6 separate regions of the Homo sapiens genome follow, and regions 1, 2, 3, 4 and 5 are each linked to region 6. The links are contacts of gene promoters, found by promoter capture Hi-C in human tissues and cell types (Jung and others, 2019). All regions are on one chromosome and are shown on one strand. The core of a region is centred on a gene start or on the middle of the fragment in contact, and the rest is flanking DNA. Distances in the headings are between cores, read along the strand shown.

Evidence for each region. Contacts are between HindIII fragments. The study calls those that stand out against the background at their distance.
Region 1: a contact is called between a fragment that was not itself captured here and the fragment with the promoter of RHBDF2 in region 6, in 1 of the 25 tissues and cell types used here (dorsolateral prefrontal cortex).
Region 2: a contact is called between a fragment that was not itself captured here and the fragment with the promoter of RHBDF2 in region 6, in 3 of the 25 tissues and cell types used here (IMR-90 fibroblasts, aorta and mesenchymal stem cells).
Region 3: a contact is called between a fragment that was not itself captured here and the fragment with the promoter of RHBDF2 in region 6, in 4 of the 25 tissues and cell types used here (H1 embryonic stem cells, IMR-90 fibroblasts, mesenchymal stem cells and 1 more).
Region 4: a fragment that was not itself captured here is called in contact with the fragment with the promoter of RHBDF2 in region 6 in 1 of the 25 tissues and cell types used here (lymphoblastoid cells).
Region 5: a fragment that was not itself captured here is called in contact with the fragment with the promoter of RHBDF2 in region 6 in 2 of the 25 tissues and cell types used here (adrenal gland and pancreas).

The regions. Positions count from the first base shown.
Region 1 is chr17:76,267,302-76,270,353 of GRCh38, forward strand. UBALD2 (UBA like domain containing 2) reads left to right here. Exons shown (of 3, transcript NM_182565.4): 3 at 2,893-3,052. Among named protein-coding and RNA genes, the nearest start is that of UBALD2, 3.5 kb to the left of the region's middle. RefSeq lists enhancers at 830-1,059, 2,760-2,949. The HindIII fragment of the contact is 4,243 bases long and covers 1-3,052 here.
Region 2 is chr17:76,328,036-76,330,963 of GRCh38, forward strand. It overlaps PRPSAP1 (phosphoribosyl pyrophosphate synthetase associated protein 1), which reads right to left. Exons shown (of 10, transcript NM_002766.3): 5 at 2,516-2,631; 6 at 2,008-2,063; 7 at 682-827. Among named protein-coding and RNA genes, the nearest start is that of QRICH2, 21 kb to the left of the region's middle. The HindIII fragment of the contact is 4,882 bases long and covers 1-2,928 here.
Region 3 is chr17:76,712,619-76,715,501 of GRCh38, forward strand. It overlaps a transcript of JMJD6 not described here. Among named protein-coding and RNA genes, the nearest start is that of MXRA7, 3.1 kb to the left of the region's middle. The HindIII fragment of the contact is 3,371 bases long and covers 1-2,883 here.
Region 4 is chr17:76,634,066-76,637,101 of GRCh38, forward strand. The region is part of intron 1 of ST6GALNAC1 (ST6 N-acetylgalactosaminide alpha-2,6-sialyltransferase 1); the gene reads right to left. Among named protein-coding and RNA genes, the nearest start is that of ST6GALNAC1, 8.2 kb to the right of the region's middle. The HindIII fragment of the contact is 7,403 bases long and covers 1-3,036 here.
Region 5 is chr17:76,651,179-76,654,123 of GRCh38, forward strand. It overlaps the pseudogene PTMAP13. Among named protein-coding and RNA genes, the nearest start is that of ST6GALNAC1, 8.9 kb to the left of the region's middle. The HindIII fragment of the contact is 8,814 bases long and covers 1-2,945 here.
Region 6 is chr17:76,499,980-76,502,993 of GRCh38, forward strand. It overlaps RHBDF2 (rhomboid 5 homolog 2), which reads right to left and starts at 1,444. Exons shown (of 19, transcript NM_001005498.4): 1 at 1,374-1,444. RefSeq lists enhancers at 702-1,371, 1,722-1,861 and a silencer at 1,032-1,671. The HindIII fragment of the contact is 32,589 bases long and covers 1-3,014 here.

The DNA.
Region 1 (3,052 bases), core at 500-2,999, 230 kb before region 6:
CCTGTTTAGTTCCTATTGCCCCTCCTCTGCAAATCCCAAGGAGATGCTAAGTCTCTTTTGAAGCTTCCCTCAAGGAAGGCAGCAGGTTTTGTAACACACATAACCAGTGTGTCCATCAGTGCCCAAGTCTGAGTGCCTTAGCAGCACAGTGGAGGACACCATCCCTGCTCTCAAAAAGTTCATGGTTTCTTTTTTTTTTTTTTTTTTTTTCTAATTTTATTTTTGAGAAAGGCCAGGGCAGGGGGAGTCTCTATGTGGCCCAAGCTGGTCTTGAACTCCTGGCCTCAAGCTATCCTTCCGCCTCAGCCTCCCGAAGTGCTGGGATTATAGGTGTGAGCCACTGCACCCAGCTGGCAATTTCTTTTCTTTTTTTTTTTTTTTGAGACAGAGTTTCACTCTTATTGCCTAGGCGGAGTGCAATGGTGTGATCTCGGCTCACCGCAACCTTCACCTCCTGGGTTCAAACGATTCTCCTGCCTCATGGGATTACAGGCACGTGCCACCTGTAATCCCACACCTGGCTAATTTTGTATTTTTAGTAGAGACGGGGTTTCTCCATGTTGATCAGGCTGGTCTCGAACTCCCAACCTCAGGTGGTCCGCCTGCCTCGGCCTCCCAAAGTTCAGGGATTACAGGCGTGAGCCACTGCACCCGGCCTGGCAATTTATTTTGGACAAAGTAAGTCAAAGGAAAAAGATCAAAAAACGAAACACTAGAGACCAGTAACAGCAAAATGGCAAAACCAGAAGTCATGAGTAACTGATAAATGGTTGTCCCGTACATTACTGTAGATTCCCATAGTTGGAAGCTTCCCAGTTGATAAGGAGGGCTTCCCAGTTGGAAGTGGAGAAAGGCACTACAGACTTGAAGTGGGAGGACAAAGGTACAGGGGACAATGGGTTTTCTTGAGAACTGGCCGAGAGGGCATATCTGGTTCAAAACCCTCATTTTACAAAAGCAGAGAGAAGCTCCAGAGAGGTTCAGGAACTTGCCCAAGCTTACACAGGCAGGCCACCACAGGCCTGCCAGCCATCATCCCTGCTGTTCTCTGGCGGCTGTTTGAGGAGACAGGCCTCGCTGGCTGGCGGGGAACTGGGGAAGTCGGTCACGATGCTGTGATGCAATTGGCCTCCACCCCCACCCTTCATTCATTGTTTCCTGCTGCCGAGAAGTCATCCCCAGAGGGTGGGGGGGGGGCAGGGAGTAGTGGAGGGAGGAGGGGAAAGGTCTGGGTGGGGCCAGGCCTCTGCATTGGGTCCTTTGGCCTCCCCCTGAGGACCCCTAGAAAGGCAAGGGTCAGAGCTCCCTTGGTGCCCTGGGTGCTGACATGGTGTGGGGCTCAATGGACAGGGTGTGCTAGTGTCCCCATTCCATGTATGTTACACACCCCCTACACAACCTCCGGTTTCTAGCTGTGAAAGCTCCCTCTGTTTTTTTTTTTTTTTTTTTTGAGACGGAGTTTTGCTCTGCCACCTAGGCTGGAGTGCAGTGACGTGATCTCAGCTCACTACAACCTCCACCTCCCGGGTTCAAGTGATTCTCCGGCCTCAACCTCCCAAGTAGCTGGGATTATAGACGCCCATCACCACACCCAGCTAATTTTTGTATTTTTTAATAGAGACAGGGTTTCACCATGTTGGTCAGGCTGGTCTCGAACTCCTAACCTCAGGTGATCCACCCGCCTCGGCCTCCCAAAGTGCTGGGATTACAGACGTGAGCCACTGCGCCCTGCCAAAGCTCCCTCTTTCAAGGTGAAGAGCCCTCAAGTCGTTCCCCCAACTCCTGCGCCTGGGGGAGGGGCCAGTGTTGCTAAAATTAGGAGAAATTCAAAGAAGGACTCCTGTGGCTTCCTGGGAAAGGGAGAAAGCAGCTTTGAGGTCCCAGCCAGTTTTGTGTGGTCTTGTTCTCTGTGTTGCCTCTTGCCCATGCTGCTGACGAGGTGCTCCTGGATGGCACTCCAGCCCCTGCCCCCAGGGTAGTGACAGAAGACAGCAGATGGGGGACTGTAGCTACCCCCAGGAAGAGGACTGAGGGGCTGGACAGACTGAGAAACTGCCAGCCTGCAGGCAAGGGCAGGCCAGCTGTGTTTGTGGCCTGAGGCTACAGACACAGGACATTGAAATCCCTGGTTTGTGTCCTCAAGGGGCCCAGATATAAAGGGGCTCTTGACTCTGTGCAGCGTGGCCCAGTAGATGTTAAGAGCTTGGGCCTGCAGACTTGGGAGCTGGGGAGGTCCGTCTTCTCAACTTGCCCTCTGCTGTGGGTGCATTTTCGGGCAAGTGACTTGACTTCTGGGCCTCAGTTTCCTCATTTGTCATAAAGAGAGGATAATTGAAGCCACTAAGTGTCATTGTTAAGGGAGGCAAAGCCTTCAAGGCCTGGTGGCTGTCACCCTTAGTGTGGTGTGAACCCATCCACCAAGGTGGCTTAACTTTTCCAGGGTTGGCACAGGAGGGAGAGCCTCCCCGCTGGCCGCTCTCCCTTGCCTAGCAGCCTGGGAGCATCTGAGGGTGGCTGGTGGGGCAGTCAGCTGGTCTCCCTGCCCAGGGAAGGTGCGGAACAGTGGTGTCCTGGGCTGCCCCCTTGCCCTTTCACTTTAATCTGACACCTTAGCTCCTGGGTGCAATTAACCATTTACTTTGAATGCTCCTCGGGGTGTCATTTCCAGGCCTCATGAAACCCCGTTGGTTTTGATAAGGTTCTTGGGTTTTGTCCTTGTTTTCTGTTTGTATTGCCTCGGGGAGAGGGCACTTTTGTCCTGTGGAAGCTGCTTGTGCGAAAATGAATGAAGCTGAAAAATGGGAGTAAAGGAGCGGCTGGCCTGGGTAAGCCCCATCCAGTGGCTCGGGGACCCCCGAGGCAGCCTCCCCACACCCGTGTTCTCTCCCGCAGATGTGCACTCCCAGCAACACCCCTGCCACGCCGCCCAACTTCCCCGATGCGCTGGCCATGTTCTCCAAGCTCCGCGCCTCCGAGGGCCTGCAGAGCAGCAACAGCCCCATGACAGCCGCAGCCTGCTCCCCACCTGCAAACTTCAGCCCCTTCTGGGCCT
Region 2 (2,928 bases), core at 133-2,632, 170 kb before region 6:
AGGAACAGAAAACTATCCAGGCATGGTAGTGTACCCCTACAGTCCCAGCTACCCAGGAGGCGGAGGTGGGAGAATCACTTGCGCCCCGGTCAAGGCTGCAGTGAGCCATGACTGTGCCACTGTACAGAGCAACAGGGGGAGATCCTTTCTCAAAAAAAAAAAAAAAAAGGCGGAGGATAGCAAATACCATTCCATTATTAAAAAACAACAAGACAGCATATATCTACATAGTCGATAACTCCTAGCCATTCATACTACTTAAAACTTTCTTCAGGGCCAGGTGCAGTGGCTCATGCCTGTAATCCCAGCACTCTGGGAGGCTGAGGCGAGCAGATCACCAGGTCTGGAGCAGATCACGAGGTCTGGAGTTTGAGACCAGCCTGGCCAACATGGTGAAACCCTGTCTCTACTAAAAATACAAAAATTAGCTGGGCGTGGTGGCACACACCTGTAATCTTTGCCACTCACGAGGCTGAGGCAGGAGAATTGCTTGAACCCAGGAGGCAGAGGTTGCAGTCAGCCAAGATCACGCCACTGCACTCTAGCCTGGGTGACAGAGTGAGACTCCATCTCAAAAACAAAACAAAACAAAACAAAACAACAACAACAAAACCAACAAAACCAACAAAAAAAAACTTTCTTCAATTTACAAATAAAATAAAAACACAGAGCTCATCTTACATGGCAACTCCAGGCCTGGGTGCACAGTAGCATTTTTGACCATAGGCGGGGAGTGACGACCATCGTCCATGTCCAGTTCCGTGCACTGAGCTTCCCCGTGAATGACGGCCAAACCCAGACGCAGTCTCTCCGCATAGGACTGGGCCCTAGAAGGACAAAGGGAAATGGTGAAACTGACAGGAAGAAATCCCACGCATCACTACGGCATCATTTTTTAACCATAAAATGAAAATATTTAACGTTTCAGGGACATACAAAGGCATTATTTATATAAATGAGAATGTGAGGCCCAGGCCAGCATGTAAATGACTCAAAGGGCACGTGAGTTAGGGTTTGGGATTGTATCTGATTCTAGACATTTTTTTTTTTTTTTGAGACAAGGTCTCACTGTCACCCAGGCTGGAGTGCAGTGGCGTCAACATGGCTCACTGCAGCCTCAACCTCCTGAGGCTCAGGTGATCCTCCCACCTCAACCTCCCGAGTAGCGGGGACCACAGGCATGTGTTGCCACAACTGGCTATTTTTTGTATTTTGTAGAGACGGGGTCTATGTTGCCCAGGCTGGTCTTGAACCCCTGGGCTCAAGCGATCTCCCGCTTTGGCCTCCCAAAGTGCTGGAATTACAGGCGTGAGCCACCCCGCCTGGCCCTGATTCTAGATAATTTTGATTCTATCCTTTGTCCAATATTCTGATAGTCATCTTCAGAAGAAAGAACAACGTTAAAAACCATTGCCTGGGCCGGGCACAGTGGCTTACGCCTGTAAACCCAGCACTTTGGGAGACCAAGGCAGACAGATCACTTGAGGTCAGGAGTTCAAGACTAGTCTGATGAACATGGTGAAACCCCATCTCTACTAAAAATACAAAAAACTAGCCAGGAGTGGTGACAGGCGCCTGTAATCCCAGCTACTGGGGAGGCTGAGGCAGGAGAGCTGCTTGAACCCAGGAGGCGGAGGTTGCAGTGAGCCGAGATCGCGCCATTGCACTCCAGCCTAGGTGACAGAATGAAACTCCATTTCAAAAAAAAAACAAAAAAAAAAACCATTGCTTGAAAAATGCTCATAGCCTCATTGCTTTCCTTTCTCTGAGAACTTGAAGGAACTTTGTTTTCCCAGAGGAAAGCTGAGCAACTCAGCGATCATGTGTGCTGTCTGGAGGCTGGAGATAAAGCTGTGTGTGGCATGGGACATGACAACGATGGAGGGGTTAACATGAGAGCCAGTGGGCTTTCAAAGGCCACGAGTGACAGCCTCTGGATTCCAAAGCAGCTCATTCTGACTTCGGGAGCACTCAGGAGGGATCAGGACCCATGTCTAGCTTACTTACCTCTTTGCAGCATCAGGAGACTTAGCTACAATGACTGCATTTCTGTAATTTGGAATCTAGATTTGAAGGAAAAATAGAAAATACTGAAAAGTTATCAGAAAATAACACCTGGATGCTGGTATTCAAGTTTTCCCTCTTATAATGATCCAAACTAGTCATCAAATATGCTAGAATTTTAGTCACAAGTTTTAGATTTTTCAATATTTATCAATTAACATCACTGGAAAAAGCACTCCTACGTCAAGAATTTTTTAAAAATAATTCTTAAAACATTCATTTTAGAAAACATAAGCAAATTGCTAAAGATACGTAGAAAAAAAATCTGTTTTTAGTGTCTTTTAAAGCTATGATCGTCCACGACTAAAGCTGACCCTGTCTGCTGCCTCAGGCATTGTGACTTAAGGGAGAGCTCATTTGATGTGCCTTCCAGTAACGAAATCTGATACCAGAGAAAAACTAAATAAGATCTCTTTTGAGGACAATGGGGTGTTTGCTGGTGGTTCCTCACTTCTTCCTGGATATACTGAAGCAGGAAAGGTGAGGCTCTAAGGTTGTCCACAGGAAAGCTGAAAAAGCCTTGTATTTCCTTTTGATGAAGATCCATAGTGATAATGTGAGTTAAACCTGAAATTTTAAAACAAAAAATTACAAAGTTCACCCCTACAGGTAAATGGCTACAGTGGACCTAAACTAGATGCTCAACTCCTGCTTCCTACCAGCAGACTGAAGACGGGGTACTGTGATTAAGCACTGCAGTCACAGGCTTGATTGTTAACCTTAATAAAGCCTTAATGTAGAGAAGGCTACAACCTTCCACATGGACAAAGAACTAAAGCTAAGAAAGTGGGAATTATTGACTTTTGGCTTGGTCCAGAAAATTGAGAAAAGAATAATGTGGCAGAAGCAAAAATATGAATATGG
Region 3 (2,883 bases), core at 350-2,849, 210 kb after region 6:
CTGGGCTCAAGTGATCCTCCTGCCTTAGCCTCTTGGGCAGCTGGGATTACAGGTGTGCATCAATGCTCCTGGCCCAGGGCCTTAATTTTGTGCTCCATCCCATTGTTTTAAAGTGTAAATACATTTTTTTAAAGTCCTGTTCTGCTGACAAAGTACATTGTTGACTTTCAAATGAGTAAGAAAGAAAATAAGGACAAAACAATGCCAAAAACACAACTCCAAATCATGTTGCTTTATTTAAAATGATGAACAAGTTTCACCCAAGTGAAAGTTTAAAATACCAACCCAATAGCAGATCCACAGGCTTTCATGGCAGACCCCATGGCTAGACGGACGCAGAACTAGGAGACTGCTCAGTGTTCTGACAACTCCAGGAGGCACGAGTGTGCAGAAGACAGTCCCAGTTCTTCTGTAGCATCCAGTCACTTTGGAGACAGCTGGCCAGGGCTAGCTCTCCTCCCAGGAGGTTCACTGGGGCTTAGATGACATTTCTTTTTTTTTAAAGACAGAGTCTCGGTCTGTCACCCAGGCTGGAGTGGCTTGATCTCAGCTCACTGCAACCTCTGCCTCCTGGGTTCAAGTGATTCTCCTGCCTGAGTTGACCAAGTAGCTGGGACTACAGGCATGTGCCACCACACCTGGCTAATTTTTGTATTTTTAGTAGAGACGGGGTTTCACCGTGTTGGCCAGGCTGGTCTTGAACTCCTGACCTCAAGTGATCCACCTGCCATGGCCTCCCAAAGTGCTGGGATTACAGGGGTGAGCTACGGCGCCTGGCCGAAATTTCTGAACAATGAGACAAAGTTGAGAGCCACCGCCTGGGGGTGCAAGCTCACCTAGTTTTGCTGCATAGGATGTCACATCTTGACACAAGCTAGTGGGAGGGGAGTGTGGAAGAAGCCGCCAGACTCCACTTCAAATCTACCAGCAATACCAGTACACACATCAAAAACAACTTACTCGTGGAAATACTACAGACAATCTAAAGAACCTACAGCTGGGGCATCCTTATACGCCTTCCTCCTACACAGCATTTTTTACATTTACTGCAAAAATTTTGTTCCATCCTATACTCGTCTAAAGTCCTAAATCCAAGGCTCAGTCTCTAGTAAGCTTATAAAGCATTTGCACCAGCAACCTTCCCACAGATCCTTAGTTTTGCTACTTTATGAAGAAGCTGTTACTACCTTAAGTATACATTGGTGTTAATTATGCTCTTTCATGTAGATCCGTTACACCTGCATTTAAGAAGGTCTGCACTTTCTTCTACCTGCCCTCACCAGCGGCCCTGTGAACAGCCGCAACAGCCGCACATTCACTGTCCATTAAGCTTGTGGAGCTTGTCAGGGACCTGGGCTTGTCACCGTTATCTCCAGCACCTCAAGAGCAGTGCCTGGCCCTCAAACACCTATTGAACGCTTGAATTATTAAGACACGGACAGCTGCAAGAATACAGCAAAATGTGAATGTCCCTCTTTTCAGTGGCTCTCCCCTCAAGGATGTCACCCTAAACATCCCAGTACCACTAATGGCAGAGGCATGTGTGTGAAGCATGGATTCTTCCAGCTGATGGTGAAGCCTCATCCCCAAAGACCCAGGGTCCTCCTGATGTTCTAGGTCCCCAACTCTTCTCTCTCCCACTCTGGTCCTTCCATCAGAAGTTAATAATCCAAGATCCCTTCTTCCAGGACCCAGCTCTTTGGTTTTAAGATCTGCTGTCATCTTGGAGAATCATCCCTGAAAATAATCTAACATTATCTCCTTCACTTTACTGTTGTTGGCACCATTCAATGGAGTAGCTCACGCCAGATGGGAAGAGGAGTTAACTTCTGAACAAGTGGTCTCTGGGTACCCACTCTTCCTAGTCTACCTTGGCCACCCGCCACCACTCCACTCCTTTTCCACACACGGTTTCCCCACCTTGCCCCTGTTGTGCTTACATAACGGACAGCCTGGCTAGCCCACAGAGACAGTAACGGGGGTTGGGGAATAGGGCTGCTGAATCCCTGGCCTGGCAGGAATAAACAAAGCATGTCCCAGGAGCACAGAATCTGTACTATCCAGACACTGTACTATCCAGAGCTGACTTGGGCCTATCAGATATGTTATTCCCCTCATTTCTGGAATACTGTTATCAAACAGGAATCAACTTTAGCATCTGGAGAAAGAAAACTGGGTGGCTAATCTTTATTTTCTAGATTATTATTTTTTTGAGAGATGGGATCTCACTATGTTGCCCAGACTGGTCTTGAACTCCTGGACTCAAGCAATCCCCCTGCCTCAGCTTCCCAAAGTGCTGGGATTACAGGTGTGAGCCACTGCACCTGGCCTTGGTGGCTAATTTTTAAAATTCAAAATTTCTGCTCCCCTATCCAGACCACTGGCAACGTGTCCTACCACGCCCCCTGGTGGCAAAGAGCCTTTTTGGGCTGTTTTTTATTTTAAACTGAAGTTTAGAGGAGTTGTTGATAGAAAACTGAAAGGAAGGTAAGGAAAAAGGGCAAGCGTGGCAGCACAGGAGCAATGCTGGGAAAAAGAAAAAAGCTTTTTATAGATGGCAAGAAAAGTCTTTTTAAAAAGCAGGAGTAGCAACACCACTCAGATATTACTACCAAGAGATTATACATTCAGAGTTTGACTTTACTCACACCCAAACACATCCTGTGCCCACCACAGAACCAAGGGGGCTGTGGGCGTGGGGGTAAGGAGGGAGAGCAGCCCCCATGGCAGGCAGGCAGCACAGTTCTACCTACCCAGCCACATACTGGGGTTGGCATTTGAGGATGCAGAAAATTGAACTAAGACAAAAATAGAGAACCAGCCTCCTAGAGTAAAGCCACATGACCCAATGTCAGGAAATGACAGTCTGTTAATAACAGTGAG
Region 4 (3,036 bases), core at 196-2,695, 130 kb after region 6:
AGACTCCTTTGATTCGCTAAATAATTTTGCACCTGGGCTCCCGCCTTCTATGGCATGGAGAGCGAGCGGAAGTGGCTGCAGGTGAGTTGCGCCTGGTATGTGGGAATGGCTGGTCACACAGAATCGCCTCTACTTACGTCCTTAAGTCCTGGGCTCTTTCTCAGTCCCCACCATCAACTTTGCCCTCATTTTATCTCAGGCCCCCTGGCTGGGTGAGCTTTCCTCTTCCAGGTTACATGTTTGGTTCCCACAGCTTTGATGCTGCTTCTCCTTGAAAGGAGGACAAACTAACACTTCGCTCTGCCCTGTGTCCCTCTCCACTCCCTGCTGTGGAGCTCTCTACCTTGAACTGCTCCTGCCTCCTGTGCCCCACATTGTTAGCTGGGCCTGGAGTTCCCAAGACCCCCTTGGTGTCCACGAGGGCTATTCCAGCCTCCTTTTGGTATTTGATCAGTTCTTCGGGGTCTCCTGTCTTATGTGAGATAGAAACCAGCCATTCTGCTTTTTCTTTTCCAACTCTAAAGTTGGCCAGGCGTGGTGCCTCACGCCTGTAATCCCAGCACTTTGGGAGGCCGGGGGTGGGGGTGGGGGGTGGATCACCTGAGGTCAGGAGTTCGAGACCAGCCTGGCCAACATGGTGAAACCCCATCTCTATTAAAAATACAAAAATTAGCTGGGCATGGTGGTGCATGCCTGTAATCCCAGCTACTTGGGAGGCTGAGGCAGGAGAATCGCTTGAACTCGGGAGGCAGAGGTTGCAGTGAGCTGAGATCGTACCACTGCACTCCAGCCTGAGTGATACAGCAAGACTCTGTCTCAAAAAAAACAAAAACAAAAAACAAACTCCAAAGTTTATCTTCCTTGGAAAATCCTGAAAGTTTTCTAAAAGTGAATGAATGCTTTATTTTTACGACTTTACTTTGACTTTAGATGTGTCTATACGCTGCTTCCATGACTAAAAGCTGTATGATTGCCTTAATTATCTTTGTATGCTGGAAAAAAATGGCAGAAATCCATTTTCTCTTGTTATTCTGAGTGTTCTTTTCTCAAATCAAAGCCTGTGTGGTGGTTTTCAGCCACCTCAATCTTAGTGGGGAGATTCTAGTGGGGATGTTATTATGTTCTGGGACTCGAGAGAAAACAGAAGGAAAATGAGTCAGTTGCTGCTCATCATACTTCAGTGGCTGGATACAGCTTCCAGAGCTCCCCCTGAACAGACAGGTCCCCAGCATTCTCAGAGATGCCCTTCGCCTAGCTGAATTCACTGTGGGCCAGAATGCCAGTCAGCTGGTTTGAAAGTTAGATGTCCTACGCCTGTAATCCCAGCACTTTGGGAGGCTGAAGCAGGCGGATCACTTGAGGTCAGGAATTCGAGACCAGCCTGGCCAACATGGCGAAACCCTGTCTCTACTAAAAATACAAACGGCTGGGTGTGGTGGTGCACGCCTGTAATCCCAGCTACTCTGGAGGCTGAGGCAGGAGAATTGTTTGAGCCTGCGAGGTGGAGGTTGCAGTGAGCAGGGATCGCATCACTGCACTCCAGTCTGGGCAGCAAAGAGAGACTCTGTCTCAAAACAACAACAACAATAACAACAACAAACCAACTAAATGAGACATCTTATGGAAAGTTCTACGAGAACTTGACAACACAATGCAATGTTTATTCTGCAATATTCATTGAGTAGCCATGACATGACAGGCATTCAGAGGTATCTGCTAGAGATTAAAGATAAAAAAAGCAATGGTCACTGGTTTTAAGAGGCTCACAGTCTATAAGAGAAACAGACATGAGTATAAGCAGCTGCCTTAAAGTGTCATCGGTATGATATTAGTCATACGTGTGCGAGGCAGTGGTGACAGCCTAGGGAGGCAGTTCTGCTCGGGGGGATACTTTGGTATGTAGGGGTTACCTAAGCTGAGTCTTTTTCTCCTGAGTCTTCAGAAGTGAACTTTTATGAATTATTTTTATTTTTATAAAAGCAATGTGTGCTTATTACGGAAAAAGCAGAAACTGCCTTAAAACATGAAAGGATAGCAACCTCCTATTATCCCAGTCCCTTCAAAGAATCTACTGTTAGTACCTCAGGGCATGAACAGCCGCATCCCTTTTCTACGCCTGTCATGCTTTTGAATACAATTATATACTATTTTGAAATGTTATTTGTTTCCCTCTCCACCCCACCCCCATACCTCCAGCAGTTAAGATTTGGTTTCATGTTCAAGATGTAGTGAAACAGATCAATCTTGGAGAAGTTATGAGGGGGAAGGACTTTACTACTTCTTACCATCATTGTCCTTCCCCTGGAAAGATCCTTTACTCTGGTGGGTGGCGGAAATGAGAGAAGGAGGGATCTGTGAGTTCCAAGGTCAGAGGACCCTGCTTCCTGGCAGTGTTCCAAAGGTCTAACAAGACCCCTGGAAAAAAAAAGAATCCTGAGCCTAGGAAGACAGGACCACAGACAGTGTCAGAAAAGTCTCACACGGAGCTGAGATCACGCCACTGCACTCCAGCCTGGATGGCAAAACGAGACTCCGTTTCAAAAAAAGAAAAGTCCTCCCGCCCGGCCAGCCTCCCCGTCCGGGAGGTGGGGGTAGCCCCCACCCAGCCGCCGCCCCGTCTGGGAGGTCGGGGGCGCCTCTGACCGCCGCCCCGTCTGGGAAGTGAGGAGCCCCTCTGCCCGGCCGCCACCCCATCTGGGAGGTGTACCCAACAGCTCATTGAGAACGGGCCATGATGACGATGGCGGTTTTGTCGAATAGAAAAGGGGGAAATGTGGGGAAAAGAAAGAGAGATCAGATTGTTACTGTGTCTGTGTAGAAAGAAGTAGACATAGGAGACTCCATTTTGTTCTGTACTAAGAAAAATTCTTCTGCCTTGGGATCCTGTTGATCTATGACCTTACCCCCAACCCCGTGCTCTCTGAAACATGTGCTGTGTCCACTCAGGGTTGAATGGATTAAGGGCGGTGCAAGATGTGCTTTGTTAAACAGATGCTTGAAGGCAGCATGCTCGTTAAGAGTCATCACCACTCCCTA
Region 5 (2,945 bases), core at 244-2,743, 150 kb after region 6:
TGCTCTCCCTCCCCTTCCCCAACCCTCTGCCCCTGCCCCAAGAGGCCCAGGTGTGTGATGTTCCCCTCCTTGTGTCCATGTGTTCTCATTGTTCAACTCCCACTTATGAGTGAGAACATGCGGTGTTTGATTTTCTATTCCTGTGTTAATTTGCTGAGAATGATGACTTCCAGCTTCCTCCATGTCCCTGCAAAGGACATGAACTCATTCTTTTTTATGGTTGCATTTTCAGTACTTTGAAGAAAAAGAGCAGGGCCTTGGAAGTTTTGGTTCTTTTTTCCTCCCCTGTTGCAAATTCTCATGGTTTGAGTTGGGTGGTGGAGAGTGCGTGTCATCTGCGGGTGGTCTCTCTACCTGAAGGTGACTACGTTTGGATTCTGAGACAGGAAGTAGAGGGTGACTAGGTCACAGTCATTTTTTTTTTTTTTAGTTTAATTTTTCCTTTTTTGCTGTCTAGTTGTCCTCATCAATCTTCTGCTTCTTGGTATGGACATCATCATCCTTATCATCTTCAGCTACTCACTTGCCCATAGCAAACTCAGCTTCCTCGTCTTCATCTCCATCCTCTTCCTCACCATCACCTTCTTCCTCTTCTTCATCTACCTCATTGTCAACCTCCTGCTCCCAATTTTCCTCATTAGTGTTCCCATTAGCAGAGGCATCTCTTCCATTTCCGCCTCCTCCACAACTTCCTTCTTCTCCTTTAAGTCCTTGGTGGTGATCTCGGAGCTGGTGTCTATGGCTGCATCTGACATGATGGGGCATGCCGGTGATCTGATACAGGGGATTAAAAAGGAATCGAGAATTCGAGGACTCTGGTGATAAAGCTGCTGGAGTCCACGGAGGAGGAACCAAGGAGCCAGACGAGGAACAATGCAAAGATGGCTTTTCAGAGCAGCCAGTGGGGGCTGTTTTCATTTCAACAGTGTTCAGAGGAGTAGATTCCATCTCAAGAAACCCTCTTGGTGCATGCATAAGAAGCAACTTCTAATCTGTAGAAGTTTGATCATGAGATTGCAGCAACTCAGCCACATCTTCAGGCTCCACCTCTAATTCTGCTTCTCTTGCTGTTTACACCACATCTGTGGTGACTTCTTCTACTGAAGTCTTAAGTCCCTCAAAGTCATCCACCAAGGTTGGAACCAACTTCTTCCAAACTCCTGTTATGTTGATATTTTGACCTCTGCCCATGAATCATGAATGTTCTTCAGGGACTCTAAAATGATGAATCCTTTCCAGAAGGTTTTCAACTTACTTTGCCTAGATCCATCAGAGAAATCACTATCTATGGCAGCTATATCCTTATAAAATATATTGCTTGAATAATAAGACTTGAAAGTTAATATTACTCCTTATTCCATGGGCTGCAGAATAAACGTTGCGTTGACAGGCATGAAAACATTAATCTCCTTGTATATCTTCATCAGAACTCTTGGGTGACCAGGTGCATTGTCAATGAGCAGTAATATTTTCAAAAGAGTCTTTTCTTCTTAGCAGTAGATCTCAACAGTGGGCTTAAAATATTCAGTAAATATGGCTGGTTGTGGTGACTCATGCCTGTAATCCCAGCACTTTGGGAGGCTGAGGTGGGCGGATCACGAGGTCAGGTGATCACGACAATCCTGGCTAACACCGTGAAACCCATCTCTACTAAAAATACAAAAAATTAGCTGGGCATGGTGGCATGCACCTGTAATCCCAGCTACCCAGGAGACTGAGGCAGGAGAGTCACTTGAATCTGGGAGGCGGAGGTTGCAGTGAGCCAAGATCGCGCCACTGCACTCCAGCCTGGGCAACAGAGTGAGACTCCATCTCAAAAAAAAAAAAAAAAGGAAATGTTTGGTGGCCAGGTGCAGTGGCTCATGCCTGTAATCCTAACACTTTGGGAGACCAAGGCAGATCACTTGAGGTCAGGAGTTCGAGACCAGCCTGGCCAACATGGTGAAACCCCCGTCTTTACTAAAAATATAAAAATTAGTCGGGCATGGTGGCATGCACCTGTAGTTCCATTTACTGGGGAGGCTGAGGCCGAAGAATCCCTTGAACCCAGGAGGTGGAGGTTGCAGCGAGCTGAGATCACGTCACTGCACTCCAGCCTGGGCGATAGAGCGAGACTCTGTCAAAAAAAAAAAAAAAAAGAAAGGAAGAAAGAAAGAAAAAAAGGAAAAAGAAAGAAAAAGTTTGAAATATCGCAAGAATTACCAAAATGTGACACAGACATGAAGTGAGCACTTGCTGTTGGAAACATGAGGCTGATAGACTTACTTGATGGAGGGTTGCTATAGACCTTCAGTTTGTAAAATTGCACTATCTATCTGCAAAATACAGTAAAGTGAAATGCAATAAAACAAGGTATGCCTGTAAAAGCATTTTTATAAAAAACGAACTGTCCACAATTTTAGTGTTCAATGTCCATCTAGTTGCCAACATAAAGAAATGGCATCACATTTCACGTGTTATGTCTAGATCCAATTTATCCAAACCTAGGAGCAATATGAGGTTTTTACTATTGCAAAATTTAGTTTAATTTAATTTTTTAAATTTTTGTAGAGACAGAGTCTCAGTATGTTTCCCGAGCTTGTCTGGAGCTCCTGGGCTCAAACAGTCCTCATGCCTTGGCGTCCCAAAGTGCTGGGATTACGAGTGTGAGCTACCACGCATAGCCGCAAAATATTCTTTAGAACTGTGACAAATATTGCACTGATTTGGGAGTACCTCCAGAATCAGGAACTGGACAATCAATACAAGTGGGAAAATGTGGCCGGTCATGGTAGCTCACGCCTGTAATTCCAGCACTTTGGGAGGCCGAGGTGGGCAGATCACCTGAGGTCAGGAGTTCAAGACCAGCCTGGCCAACATGGTGAAACCCCATCTCTACTAAAAATACAAAATTAGCTGGACGTGGTGGCGCAGGCCTGTAATCCCATCTACTTGGGAGGCTGAGG
Region 6 (3,014 bases), core at 194-2,693:
CTCATGGCACCAAAGGAAGACTCTTGTGAGGGGAATAAGTGCCCTCACACTGCCTTACCCCTCATCTCATTCAGGTTTATTCCAAGTTCCTCCCCTAACCACTCTGGAAAACTGAGGTAGTTTCCCCAGTGAGGGAGCATCATTGAGAAGGAACCTGATGGACCAGCTGCTGCGCAGGGTTTCTCAGCCTCAGCACAGCCCAACACCTTGGGCTGGATAATTCCTCGTTATGTGGGCTGTTCCGTGCCCTGAAGATGTCTGGTAGCGTCCCTGGCCTCTACCCACTACCTGCCAGTAACAACAACACTCACTTCCCCTCCCAAGTGTGTGACACCCAAAATGACTCCAACATTGCCAAATATCCCATGGCAGGCAAAGTCGCCCCTGGTTGAGAACCACAGCTCTAAAACACGCCTCCCTTTCCACTGCCTGCCCTACGGACAGTGAGGGTCGAATAAGGCAGATGCTGGTCTCATTATATTACCAGCAAATGGCACACACTGGGGGCCTGATGCCAGCCGCCCAGGCAACAGCAGCCTCTCCCCAAGTGGGGTCAGCTCCCCACCGCCTTCTGCTCCTCAGACACACCCGCTGCCACCCTCTCAGTAGCTCCAACCCTAGAGCCCCCTCCGTTAATCTTTCATGGAATGGGGCAGGGCCAAAACCTAGGCTTCCTTTGCGCCCTGGCGTGGGAGTGGGGCGGGGTCTGTACCCTAGGGAACTTATCCGTCTCTATCCCAATGCCCTGGGGGAACATCCGAGGGGCCAAACAGGTAAAAGGCAAGCCCAGGGCCAACCTTCCCCAGCCCCTCCATCCAGAAGTCAGGACTCCTGGGTCCAATTTCTGAGCTCCGGTCCAGCCCTGCTGTGTGAGTCCCTCATCCCCACCCCCGCACCTGTTTCCACCTTGGCTGGCTCAACCAACAAACTTCGGCCCCGGTCCGCCCGGTGCTCACCCGGGAGAAAGTGGAGGGGAGAGAAGGGTCTGAACTGCAGGCACTTCTGGGACGCAGGCGGGACTGCCCTGCGCAGTCTCCTCTCTTCCTCCGGAGGTTTAAATCTCTGCCCAATCGTCTTGCCCCTACATCTGGCGCCCCGTCGCCCAGGGACCCCTTAGGCGTCCTGTCCGAGCCGAGCCCTAGGGGCCAGCAGACCGGGTCCAGCGGCCCCGCCGGCGCCGTCTGAGCCAGCCCGGGCCTCCAGCCGAGCCCACGTGGGACCCAGGCGCTCCGCAGGGCGGGCACCGGGCACTGGGCACCCTTCCTGGCCGCGCACCACCGCTCCAGGGCAGGCTCGGGCACAACCTCGGGACCCTTCCGGCGCCTGCGGCTGGGCGGCCGTGAGTCCTGCCCCGCTCGTCGCCCCGCGCTCACCTCCCTGCGGCCCCAAGTCCCCGGGACGCAACTCCGTGCGGCGCCTGCGAGCGGCTGGGCGGTGGCTCCTCGGGGGCGGGGCGGCGGCGCTCCGCCTCTTCCCTACCTGCGCGCGGGCGGCCGGGAGGCGGGGCTGGGCTCCAGGGGGCGTGGCCGGGCTCATGGGGGCGGGGCCTGGACGCAGTCTTTGCTCAGTCGGCTTCCTGGGTTCCTGCCTCCGCCCTCCACCCAGCTGGGTCCCCGCCTGGGCAGAGCCCTGTTTTCGCCTGAGCTGGTCTCTTCAGGGCGCCGTCCTTTCCCTCTTGGCGTCCTCACTCCACCCCAGACCAAACACGTCATCTAGGTCTTGATTGCCGTCTTCAAGTCGCCCCTCCCCATCAAGAAAAAGCACCCAATCTCCCATCCCCTTCTTCCAGCGCCCTCATCCTCAGGCCAAGTGGGCCTGTTCCCTTGACCCTTTTAGTCTGTAGTCACACTCTCTCCGGGAAGCTGGGCCTGAACACCTCCTCTCCCTCCTGGACCCTGAGGCCTCTCTCCTAGCTCTGCTGTGCCCTTGGGTTGGGAACAGGCACTCCGTGGAGGTCCTATCTGCATTTGCCCTGCAGCTAAGGCCAACATTTGTGACTCCTGCCAACCCCCTACACACCCCGTAGAAGCATTGACAGAACCCACCCAGCTCTGGCCCTTCCAGCTGCCATGCGGGCCAGAGCCAGACTGGAGATTGGGGACGCTGGCGACACCTGGCCCCTTGGCTTGGGTCTGTCTGCCCAGGTGGTTCCTTCTCTCTTCCCTGGACTCCAAGGGCCTGCCTCTTGGGACTAGACAAACAAAACCTTGGCCAGGGCAGCTAGGACCGAACTCCAAGGTCTGGATGCCCCGTTCTCAGCCCCAGCGCTTATCATCTCGCCGTCCCTCTCCAGGAGGCCTGGCTAGGCCAGGAGGAGCAGAGTTTGAAGAGACTCAGGCTTGGAGGGGTGGGGGTGGGGTTGTCAGGGCCAAGGCAAAACCTCTGGCCCTTAGAGAGCTCCTGAGCCACCCTGCCCCCCAACCCAAGGACTCTGGTGTTTATTGCTGACCTGGGTGGAGGTGGGGAGCACCTGGCTGCTGGAGATTATCCTGAGAGATGCATCTCTCCTCCCCAGCTCTGGGGCCATGAGGAGGGCACAGGCTGGAAGGAGGGGGAGTGGGCCAAAGCTGGGGTGGGGGTTGCTCCTAGTAACAAATGTAAGGGACCATTTATTGTGCAACCAGCACATCCTGGGGTTATGTGCAGAGAGGAACAAAACCAGGGCCTGCCCACGAAGTGCCAGCATTCTACAGGGAGACGTTGGAACTCAATACTGTAACAGGAAGGGTGAGAGCAGCTAGCCATTCCAAAGTGCTTTAGTCTGTATAATCCGCAGTACAGGTCTATGAAGTGGGTACCATTATGATCATCCCCATTTTAGGGATGAGAAAACTGAGGCAGAGGGAGATGTGAGGGGAGCAGCTGGGGTTTAAACTCGGTCATGATCTGACTTTAGACTCTAACAAACACTGCTGCAAATGCCTGAGCTGGGTTCTCTCTCCTGGAGCTCTACTGGAAGCTCTGCAGGAGTCCCCAGGAGGGGAGGGATTCATGGTGGTGCTTAAGCTGGTGTC